2 separate regions of the Homo sapiens genome follow, and region 2 is linked to region 1. The links are contacts of gene promoters, found by promoter capture Hi-C in blood cells and fetal thymus (Javierre and others, 2016). All regions are on one chromosome and are shown on one strand. The core of a region is centred on a gene start or on the middle of the fragment in contact, and the rest is flanking DNA. Distances in the headings are between cores, read along the strand shown.

Region 1 (6,109 bases), core at 1,699-4,198:
TGTAATGTGATGCCTCACTCAAAGCAAAACTGAGTCTATTTATATAATCCAACAAATTATGATTTAGTATTAAAAGTATTTTTAAAACAATAACCTAAACAAGAGGTTCACAGTCATAACTACATGCCTATAGGCTGGAAAATGTGCCAAGATTTATGGGATCAGATTCAGCAGAATGGACAGGGCCCTACTAACAGGACTGCAGTGATTCATCCCCTTTTGAGTCACTCTGAGGCCCAAGTCATCTTGGTCACTATTGGAGAAAAGGTCTAACTCACCAGAGGAAAAGGACAGAAAGTATTACTAAAAGCAGTCAACCCTGTGTGAGTCAACCTCATTAAGGGCCATGCTTTTCATCAGAGGCAGTGCAGCAGCTGGACCTTAAGTTAACAGATCAGCAGTCTTTCGTAGCTCCTCATCCAAAAACTGTACTTCCCCATTGTAACAAATATTCTTGATTCTATCAAGTGGCAGGAAATGGCTTTCTAACTAGAGTATGCCGATAATTGAGAACGTACTATATAATCAGAAAATTGATAACCAAAGGGCATAGAAGCAACGAGCTCAACTTAGCAAATTATTTCGTATTTTACAAACTAGAGATTAAGGAAGACAAATGTATGTGTATATGAAGACAGTGTTTTGGTTATCACTATTTTGATAGTTCTTCCAATACAGACACTGTACATATTTCAGAAATAAAAAGAAATAGTGAATCTATAAAATAGCCAGCAGTTCGCTGTACTTAATCAAAAACTGCCATTATTGGTTAAACTGTAAAATACATCTAAATCCTACGGAATAACAAAAATAATTTATCTAGAGAGAAAGCTAAATTTACTAAACAATTAGAAGAAAGAATACAATTCCAAAGATTTTCCGGAATACAGGGCAATCCAACCTCAACATACCATTCATATATATAGCTAGCCCAACTTGCCCAAGAGGGCAAGTGCTCTTGTGTTTCAACAACGAGCACTTCCTCCAACCATGAACTAATGTCTAAAGACTTGCATGCTTTCTCAAGTGCTTTATTTCTCAAAAACCATGGGAAAAGGCGGAAGAAAAATAAAATCAAGTCTTATCAGATAAACAATATTGTCTACTTAAACAAATAAGATTAAATTGAGACATATACAGAAATTAACATGGCAGTTAATTCAATTACTTTAGAGATCAGTGTTATCTCTTCATTTTGTAATTTGAAAACTTATTCAATATGCTCATTTACATGTTAAGGCACTGTTTATGTTTAGGCCTTGCTTTACACTTGTAAATATCAGCAGTCCTCCTAAACATAAGGACGTTATAACTGTGTATTTCACTCAAGCACAGATATTCAAGGCCATCAAGAATTTATAAGCTAGCAAGATATCGCAGTACCAATAAATATAAAATGTTCTAGTTTTCCTGAATTAGTTCAAGTCAGACCACCAAATCAGATCTAAAAGTTACCTGTACTAATACAGTAATTTTTAAAACAAAAACTTCTAACATTTGAAATGTGAAACACCTGAAACAAGCAAAGCAATCATCAGATCTCACCCTCCATCAGTGACAGTGTTATGATTCTTCCTAGCTACCTTGCTCACTTTGTGGCAAAAATCCAATTCACTTACTACCTACTTAAAAGCTAGGAGAATCTTTGTAATTACACTGAGTGAAACACTATATTATGTAGATTAGGAAGCACATATTAATCACATCCAATAAAACATAAATGCAAGGTAAATAATAACTAAATCAATAATTACCTTTGGTAATAATAATGAGCCCACATACCAAACACTGGCCACTGGGGAAAACTAAATGTGCTAATGTGCGTGTAACAACAGATCTTGGGTTATCAATATTTTTAAAAAACACTGACAATGGCAAATATTTATATATATATATATATATATATATATATATTTCCTTACAGCAGAAATAAAAAGGAACAGTAAAATCTTAAGAACTGCTAGTAATTTGCTGCACCCTGATGTAAAATTGCCTTTATTGGTTAAACTAAAAGACTAAACCCAACAAAATAGCTTTTAGAAAAAATGTGTTAGAAAGTTGGACAGAAAAACAATGAGTTGAAACTGCAAACATTGACAGCACTGGCTTTCCATGTGATTATCACCATAATTCTGAACGCATTTAGTTCATCCCATGACAAGGGAAATAAGACAAGCTAAACTCTGCAGGGTAGAGAAGAGTCCAAAAGGAAAACTTTGGTTGTCTTCCTTGGGTGAAGAGAACTCTCAACTACTATCAGTTTGACAAAGACACGCAGAATCTGGGTGAAGCAAGAATTCGAGCGGTCCCTAGGAATATACAATATTTTCCCGAAATCCACACGCGCGGAGCGGGATATATTTCTAAAAACAAAAAACAAACTGCATGAATTGCAAATGAAGCAATAGGAGTTCAGCATCCAATAGGTGGCTGGTCATCTTTCTGGTTCGTTAGGTCAAGACGTCCTTCTCACCTACGACCCTCAGAGAAGGACTGACTCCCTCCTCTGTAACCTCTCCCTGGAAGCCAACCTTTGCCATCTCCTGCCATCCTCTCAGTCAATCCGCCAGGACCCGGGACACGCCCCCACGAATGACTACTTTCCTCCGAGATGCAACTCTGCCCCGTGTCATCCGCAACCTCCAGTCTCAGGGCCTCTTTGGCCTCAGGGTCCCCGGTGCCTCCCTCCTCAGTCCCTAAAGGCTGCCCTTAGGGCTCTCCTGGTTCCCCGTTCTCAGTCCTGGCCCTTCTCTCAAGCCTGGGGTCCCGGATTTCCCTCCACACGCGCGGGAGATGCCGACTCTCCCGTCCCTACCCGGTCTCCCAGTCCCGCGGCGCCGGGCGGCGGCGCGCCGAAAGGCATCCACTGAGGAAACAAGTGCCTGCAACGTTCCGGCTGCGAACTCACCTCCAGTCCGGGCTCTCGGATGCTGGCCCGGAGCCGGGCTTCCGCCTGGCGCGGTCCGCGTCGCGAGCGGGACCGGAAGTCCCGCCCCTCGCCCGCTCCCGGCCCGCTCCCGGCCCGCTGGCCTCGCTTGACTACCGCTCCCCGGGAGAGGGATCGCCGGCGGCGGGCGACGGGCGGCTGGCAAGGGGCAGAGGGCAGAGGGGCTTGGCTTGAAAGGGCGAGGCAGGCGCCAAAAAAATTCCCTCTCGCGCTCCTGCTCTTTCTAGTGTATCCATCGACCAGTGTGCAAATGCTTGACCAAGCGTCTATTCTGCCCAAGCCCAGTGAGGCACAAGATGACTCAGACACTGACCTCTGTCCTCACAATCTAGTTAAAAGTTGACATAAGTAAAAACAGAAGTAAATCACGCCACAAGACAGTGTTTCTTCTTTCATTATTCAGATTATTATCACCTGCTATATAGGCCTGTGAACAACCAGGCACTGCTGTAGGGGCTGGGGATAGAGCGAACAGAGGACAGCCCCACTCTCGTGAGGCTTACACTCAGGGCGAGGAACTAGCTATAGAATAAATCGAACAGCGGCGGCTCCCTCGGGAGGCTTATGCACAGAAACAAAAATATATAAGCAATGAAACCATCAAGTGTTAGAGGCACTCTGGTGGTGCTGTAGGGAACGGTGCAATGTAGAGAGCTGGGCGGAGAAGGCTTTCTAGAAATAATGACTCTTCAATTGAGACTGAAATAAATGATGAATAAGAGTTAAAGGACAGGCACAGTGGAGAAGGGCATGCAGAGAAGAAGGACGTTATGGAGTGAGAGCTTGGCTTGTACCGGTAGCTGGCCAGGAGTTAAGCAAAGTGTCAGATGGCAGATGCAAGAGCAAGCATAATGAGAAGAGACAAGGCCAAATCATGAAGAACGTTGTGCCCTATGCTTAAAAATTTTGGACTTCAGAGACTCCGTGCAACGGAATCCGTGGGGTCATCTAAGGGAATAGACAAAACAGTGAGTCATGGGGTTGACTAGGGGGATTGTCCTAGTCATCAAAGAAAAATAATACATCATGAATAGCATGTTTTATCCTTGAGGGTGCTTTCTTGAACTGCCATACCCAGATGTAAAGGCAATAGACGGCTACCACAACCCTATAAAGGCAGGACCACAAGGGATCATACCCCTCAGGTTGCTGCATTGAGCAAATCACCCCAACCAACTGAGATGCTAACTGAAGTCACAGGGAACTATGGAATGGGCCCAGAAGAAAGAAGCTTCAACACCAGCTACAGTAATGAGGACTGTTGCATTTTTTGTTTGTTTTCTTTGCTACCAGTGTTTAATAAATACTCTCTTGCACACCAAGCCCTTTCTTTGCCTTTTTAAAAAGGAATGGTATAATACATACATTTTTCTTTTTTTCTCCTTTTGCCAGCAAAAGGCCATACATTGCAATATATGGAGATAGGATTACAGTAGAAGAAAATGAGGAATGGATATCGTGTAGAAAGTCTGTACTTAGAGGGCATAACATCAACTCTAAGTGAAGTAAAAGGTCACGCGTTTGGGTTTTCTCCCATTGGGAAGGTTAGTAGTCCATTTGTGGTGATACTTGAAATAACTGATTCACATAGCGGCAAGGTGTATTTTTGAAAGGATGGAAAGAAGAGAGTGTGTATGTGGTGTGATGTGGGGGGTGTGTGTGTGTGTGTGTGTGTGTGTGTGTGTGCCCACGCTGGGTGCCAAGAAGTAGAATGTAATAGACACTCTGTGAAATGTTTCCTTATAGCTTCTCACAATTCCTTTTTTTGTAGGAATGGCTGAAATACATAGAGGCAGTCCTTTTATGGGCCACATATGCACAAGCGACCATGTCCTAGTGTGACCAGCTACTCTGGTTTGCTAAAGACAGGGGGATACCAGGATGCTGGACTTTCGGTGCTTAAACTGGGATAGTTTTGCGAAAACTGAGACAAGTTGGTTGCGCTACCATGTCCCTTGTCTACATAACAGATTAATTCAGAGGTGGGCATATCCTAAACCAGACCATTTAGACTCTTTGCCCCAGAAATCTTAAATGAGGCATAGAGAAACACAGAGAGAATATAGTTACTCAGTAGAACTGAGTCACAAATGGCAGTTCCCTAAAGAAAAAATCTATTAACACCCTTTGCCAAAGATCCAGGACCTGCCCTGTTTCCTTTGGTTATAGGAGATATCCCTGTATAATTCCAAAACTTTTTTTTTTTTGGCTAGTCAAAGAAGATTGCTGCTGCTTGCAACCAAAATAATCTTAAGGAGCATATTCATTTCCAATCCTTGTTTAAGATAATGTGCTCCAAGAGTCTCTTCTGAATGGGCACTGAGCTGAACGAACCATACTCATTGCCACAGCAAACCAGACCAAATATGAACACTGAACTCAAACAGGCCTAGAAAGTCTCACATGCATGGATTTTGCAATGCACATATAGGGCTCCACTCTTGCATGCTAAATTAGAAATGTCCAAACCTAGAATTAGGTTAGGCATGAGTAAGATGTTCAAAACTGATGGGAAAAGGGGGAAAGCAACAGGAATGATGAGAAGGAAATAAGGATAAGGAGAGAAAGATGGAAAAAGAGAAGACTTATCTGAGAGGTGAACATCTTAGTTCCCTTCTTTTCAGTTTCTGATTCCCCAGTCCCTTATGAGATCCAGCTAAATGTTCTGCCCTTAAGTTCTACGAAAATTCCGTGTCCTTCCAGTAAACCCCCCATTTGGTTAAGAATCATTTTAGTAGGTTTCCCCTCCTAGCAATCAAACCCCAAGACATCAATTCACAAGACACAAGGTTGCCCACTCATTCTATAGCATGCACCAGAGTTCTGGAGCCACTTTCTCTCCTCAGACTCAAGAACAGGAGAAGGATTTGCACACCTCCATGGCTGCCTGGTCCATTCAGGAAAACTGTCACAATTACCATGGGTTAGATGACTTTAACTATTAAAATCACACAGGTGGGGAGAATCATGCAATCAGAGTGTAAAGTGGAAGGAGACTTTGGAAACCATGCATGTCAACAGAGGAAGGAACTAATGCCCTTCCAGCTAGGCATAGTGGTTTTCCTAAGGCTAAATAGTTCAGTAGTCCCAGAGACAGGATTAGCTAACAATCTCGTCTCTCAACAACTGAGGAAACTACTGTGAAATCCTTGAAAGTGCACT
Region 2 (6,109 bases), core at 3,610-6,109, 860 kb before region 1:
CTGGGCTCAAGCAATCCTCCCAACTCAGCTTCCCAAGTAGCTGGGACTACAGGTGTGTACCACCACACCCAGTGAATTTCTTATTTTTTGTAGAGACAGCAGTTTTGCCATGTTGCCATGGCTGGTCTTGAACTCCTGGGCTTGGCCTCCCAAAGTGCTGGGATTATAGGCATGAGCCACTGCACCCAGCCTGTCCCTTTTCTAGCTAGTAGTTTTCTTTCAGAGGAAATCAAAATATCTCCCTATTTACGCTAAATATGAGTCCTGAACTGTTACAGCTTCTGGGGTAGATGAGGTTAGGGTCTCTGTCAAATGCCAGCATTCAGAGGCATATAAGAAGCACTCACTGTTTTCCTCTATTCACAACACATTTCGCTTCTGACACCAGATGTGTGGGTTTTTCCCCCACACTGAACAATTTTCCAACACCAGCTGGGTGTCCTACAATTTAACTCAATTCTGACACTAATTGCCTGGAGTTAGAACAAGTTAATGGCTCAGTCCTACAAGACCATCCCCACTTCAGAGCCCAATCATAAGTGGTGGGTCCCCAGGTCACCCACAACTTCTGTCTGACTTGGTTACAAATTGGAGGTTCCCACGACCTCCTCCTCATGTTCACTAATTTGCTAGAATAGTTCACAGAAAGCAAAGAGAAAAGTTACTAAGTTATGGGTTTATCATAAAACGATGCAATTCAGGAACAGCCAGATGGGAGAGATGCACAGGGCAATGACATGTCTTGGCTGTGTCCCTACTCAAATCTCATCTTGAATTGTGACTCCCACAATTCCCACATGTTGTGGGAGGTAACTGAATCATAAGGGTGGGTCTTTCCCATGCTATCCTCTTAATAGTGAATAAGTCTCATGAGATCTGATGGTTTTATAAGGAGGAGTTCCCCTGCACATGTCCTATTCTTGCCTGCCACCATGTAAGATGTTCCTTGCTCTTCTGCCATGATTGTGAGGCCTCCCCAGCCATGTAGAACTATGAGTCCATTAAACCTCTTTCCTTTACAAATTATGCAGTCTCAGATATGCCTTTATTAGCAGCATGAGAACAGACAAATACAGGCAAGGTATGGGGAAAGGGGTGCAGAACTTCCATGCCTTCTCTGGGCACACCACCCTCCCAGCACCTCCATGAGTTCAGCAGCCTGGAAGCTCTCTGAATTCTGTAGCTCAGGGATTTTTTTTTTTTTTTTAGCTGTGACCTTGCCTTTCTCTCTCTTTCTCTCTCTCTCTCTCTCTCTTTCTCTCTCTCTCTCTCTCTCTGTGTGTGTGTGTGTGTGTGTGTGTGTGTGTAGATTTCTTTCTTTATTATTATTTTTTAAACTTTTATTTTAGGTTCAGGGGTATATGTGCAAGTGCTGCGGTTTGGAGTTGTGTCCCCACCCAAATCTCATGTTGAACTGGAATTGCCAGTGTTGGAGGAGGGGCCTGGTGGGAGGTGACTGGATCATAGGAACAGTTTAATGGTTTAGCACCATCCCTCTAGTGCTGTTTTAAAAGTGTGTGGCACCCCTCCTTCCTCTTGCTCCCACTATGTAAGATGTGCTTGCTTCCCCTTTGCCTTCTGCTGTGATTGTAAGTTTCCTGAGGCCTTGACAGAAGCAGAAGCCTATACAGCCTACAGAACTGTGAGACAATGAAACATCCTTTCTTTATACATTACCCAGTTTCAGGTACTTCTTTATAGCAGTGTGAGAATGGACTAATAAAAAAAATTGGTACCAGAGAAGTGGAGCATTGCTATAAAGGTACTTGAAAATGTGGAAATGACTTTGAAACTGGGTAATAGGCAGAGGTTGGAAGAGTTTGGAGGGCTCAGAAGAAGACAGGAAAATGAGGGAAAGTTTGGAGCTTCCTAGAAACTTGTTGAATTGTTGTGGCCAAAATGCTGATAGTGATATGGACAATGAAGTCCAGGCTGAGGAAGTCTCAGATGGAGACCTCTCAGATGGAGCTTATTGGAAACTGGGGTAAGGTTACTCTTCCTATGTGTTAGCAAAGAGACTGGCAGCATTATGCCCCTGCTCTAGACATTTGTGGAACTTGAACTTGAGAGAGATGATTTAGGGTATCTTGAGGGAGAAATTTCTAAGCAGCAAAACATTCAAGATGTGACTTGGCTGCTTGTAAGAACCTACAGTCACATGCATAAGGAAATAAATGATCTAAAACTAGAACTTTTATTTAAAAGGGAAGCAGAGCATAAAAGTTTGGAAAATTTGCAGCCTGGCCATGTGGTAGAGAAAAAAAAAATTTCAGAAGAGGAATTCAAACCAGCTGCAGAAATTTGCGTAAGTAAAGAGGAACTGAATGTTAATAGCTGAGACAATGGGGAAAATGCCTGGAAGGCATTTCAGCAAACTTCATGGCAGCCTCTCCCTTCACAGGCCCAGAGGCCTAGGATAGAAGAATGGTTTTGTGGTCTGGACCCAGAGCCCCACTGCCCTGCACAACCTCGGGACAGTGCTCCCTGTGTCCTGGCGGCTCAAGCTCCAGATATGCCTCAGGCAGCTGCTCCAGAGGGTGCAAGCTGCAAGTATTGGTGGCCTCCACATGGCATTAAGCCTGTGGGTGTGCAGAGGACAAGAGTTAAGGCTTGGGAGTCTCTGCCTAGATTTCAGAAGATGTATGGAAATGGCCGAATGTCTAGGCAGAAGTCTGCTGCAGGAGTGGAGCCCTCATGGAGAACCTCTACTAGGGTAGTGCAGAAGGGAAATGTGGGGTTGAAACCCCCATGCAGAGTTTCCAGTGGGGCACTGCCTAGTGGGGCTGTGAGACGAAGACCACCATCCTCCAGACCCCAGAATGGTAGATCCACCAACAGCTTGCACTGTGCACCTGGAAAAGCCACAGGCACTCAACACCCTTGAGAACAGCCATGGGAGCTGAGCCCTGCAGAGCCACAGGGACAGAACTGCCCAAGGCCTTGGGAGCCCAGCCCTTTCACCAGTGTGGTCTGGATGTGAGACACAGAGTCAAAGGAGATTATTTCAGAGCTTTAAGATTTAATGACTGCCCTGCTGGGTTTTGGACCTGCATAGGGCCTATAGCTCCTTTGCTTTGGCCAATTTTTCCCTTCTGGAAAGGGAGTAATTATCCAATGCCTATACCCCTATTGTATTTTGGAAGTAACTAACTTGTTTTTGATTTTACAGGCTCATGGGTGGAAGGGACTTGTCTTGTCTCAGATGAGACTTTGGACTGGACTTTCGAGTTAATGCTGAAATGAGTTAAAACTTGGGGGACTGTTGAGATGGGATAATTGTATTTTGCAATGTGAGAAGGACACAAAGTTTGGGATAGGCCAGGGACAGAATATGGTTTGGATTTGTGTCTTCGTCCAAATCTCATGTCAATTTGTAATCCCCAGTGTTGGAGAAGGGGCCTGGTGGGAGGTGATCAGATCATGGGGGTGGTTTAATGGTTTAGCACCATCCCCCTAGTGCTATCTTAAAAGTGTGTAGCACCTCCCCTACACTTCCTCCTGCTCCCACCATGTAAGATGTGCTTGCTTCACCTTTGTCTTCCACCACGACTGTAAGTTTTCTGAGGCCTCCTCAGAAGCAGAAGCCTGTATAGCCTGCAGAACCATAAGCCAATTAAACAACTTTTCTTTATAAATTACTCAGTTTTAGGTATTTCTTTATAGCAGTGTGAGAATGGACTAATACAGCAAGTTTGTTATATAGCTAAGCTCCTGTCATAGGGATTTGTTGTACAGATTATTTCATCACCCAAGTACTAAGCCTAGTACCAAATAGTTATTCTTTTTTTGTTCCTCTCCCTCCTCCCACCCTCTACCTGCAAGTAGGCTCCAGTGTCTGTTGTTCCCTTCTTTGTGTTCATGAGTTCTCATCACTTAGCTCCCACTTACAAGTGAGAACATGTGGTATTTGGTATTCTTGCATTAGTTTGCTAAGGACAATAGCCTCTAGCTCCATCCACATTTCAGTAAAAGACATAGTCTTGTTCTTTTTTTGACTGCATAGTATTTCAGGGTGTATATGCACCACGTTTTCTTTATCCAATTTGTAATTGATGGGCATTTTGATTGATTCCATGTCTTTGCTATTGTGAATAGTGCTGCAAGAAACATTTGCTTGCATGTATCTTTATGGCAGAATGATTTATATTCCTTTGGGTATATACCCAGTAATGGGATTGCCAGATATAATGATAGCTCTGTTGTTAGGTCTTTGTAGCTCAGGAATTTTTATGGAGGCTTTATCTCATAGGCATGATGGATTATCAACCTAGTCACCAGCTCCTCTCCCCTGCCTGGAAGATGGGGAGTGGGGCTGAAAGTTCCAAGCCCTCCCTTCCTCCCTCCCTCCCTCCCTCCCTCCCTCCCTCCCTCCCTCCCTCCTTTCTTTCTTTCTTTCTTTCTTTCTTTCTTTCTTTCTTTCTTTCTTTCTTTCTTTCTTTCTTTCTTTCTTGTTTCTGAGACAGGGTCTCTCTCTGTTGCCTAGGCTGGAGTACAGTGGCATGAACATGGCCCGCTACAGCCTCAATCTCCTGGGCCCAAGCAATCCTCTTGCCTTGGTTTCCTGAGTAGCTGGGACTACAGGTGTGTACCACTATGTCCAGCTAGTTTATTATTTTTTATTTTTAGTACAGATATCATCTCACTGTGTTGTCCAGGCTGGCGCTGAACTCCTGGGCTGAAACGATCCTTTTACGTTGGCCTCTCAAAGTTCTGGGATTACAGTTGTGAAGCAACTTGCCTGGCTTTTTCCAAGCTTCTAATCATGGCTTGGTCTTTCTTGTGACTAGCCCCCATTCAGGAGCCCACAAGAGTCACCTTATTAGAACAAAAGACTCTTCTATTCCCAGGAAATTCCAGGGATTTAGGAGCTCTGTCAGGAACTAGAGTCAAAGACCAAATATTACAACAAAAGATGCTCCTAGCACATTTATCACCCAGGAAATTACAAAGATTTTAGAAGCTTTGTGCCAGGAACTGAGGACAAAGACCAAAATACTTATTTCTTATTAAATCACAAGATCACAAGAGGTATCCTGGCTGTGTCTTCCCTTCCTCCACACTCATCCCCAGCCTCTGGGACTCACAGAGGAGGTAAACTTGGGAACTCCTCTCCCTACCTGCCCAGCCCCAGTGCCACTACCTGAATTAAGCCATCATCGATTCTTGCTTGTTTCAGAGCAACTGCACCCTAACTATAGAGAAGAAGTCCACATCCATTTAGGATGGCATTCAAGGCCCCCAGTGTCTTTTCCTCTTGTTGTTTGCCTCCTGCCTCACTCCAGGAGTGAGTGATCTAGAATGATCTCATTCTAGATAATTAATATTCTGTTGGCACTGTGTGCAGAGCTGTTCCTTCTTGCCATTTTCTTGCTGTTCCCCTTGACTCCAATGCCCTTTTTACACTGCCTTCTTTCAAAATCATCATCCTTCAAGCACCTTATCCTACAGATCTAACTGGAAGGCCACCTCTTCCATGAAGCCCTCCTTATCACTCATCATCCTCAGAATCAACCACTCTTTCTTTGAGCATTGCCTGGTCTTTCCACTGCATGGAAGTTCTTTGTGGGCAGGCATGGTGTCTATTTGTCTTTCGATTTTTTCTTTTCTTTTCTTTTTTCTTTTTCTTGAGACAAGGTCTTGCTCTGTCACCTAGGCCAGAGTGCAGTGGCGCGATCTCAGCTCTCTGAAACCTCCACCTCCTGGGTTCAAGCAATTCTTCTGCCTCAGTCTCTTGAGTAGCTGGTATTACAGGTGCCTGCCACCATGCCTGGCTAATTTTTTGAAATTTTTATAGAGATGGGGTTTCACCACGTTGCTCAGGCTGGTCTGGAACTGCTGGGCTCAAGTCATCTGCCTGCCTTGTCCTCCCAAAGTGCTGGGATTGCAGGCCTGAACAAATGCGTCTGGCCTCTATTTGTCCTTTTATCCTCCTACGAGCATTGACCCCTGCCCAGTGGAGTGTTGGCACAGAGACGGCTTGCAGATCTGAGTGAGGCTTGCAGATCTGAGTGAGGCACAGAGATGGCTTGCAGATTGGAGGGCTGAGTGAGTCATTGGATTTCTTCCTTTTAGGCATCACATCTCACAGCCTACTGCCCAGGTCGCATCT

Evidence for each region. The method cuts DNA at HindIII sites, captures the fragments that hold promoters and counts their contacts. A CHiCAGO score of 5 or more calls a contact.
Region 2: a fragment that was not itself captured here is called in contact with the fragment with the promoter of DISP1 in region 1 in 2 of 17 cell types (naive CD8 T cells and naive CD4 T cells); the score reaches 5.3 in naive CD8 T cells.

The regions. Positions count from the first base shown.
Region 1 is chr1:222,811,878-222,817,986 of GRCh38, reverse strand. DISP1 (dispatched RND transporter family member 1) reads right to left here and starts at 2,948. Exons shown (of 9, transcript NM_001377229.1): 1 at 2,909-2,948. RefSeq lists silencers at 2,988-3,087, 3,178-3,257 and an enhancer at 3,498-3,557. The HindIII fragment of the contact is 6,781 bases long and covers 1-4,180 here.
Region 2 is chr1:223,670,912-223,677,020 of GRCh38, reverse strand. No RefSeq gene overlaps it. Among named protein-coding and RNA genes, the nearest start is that of CAPN8, 8.3 kb to the right of the region's middle. The HindIII fragment of the contact is 207 bases long and covers 4,756-4,962 here.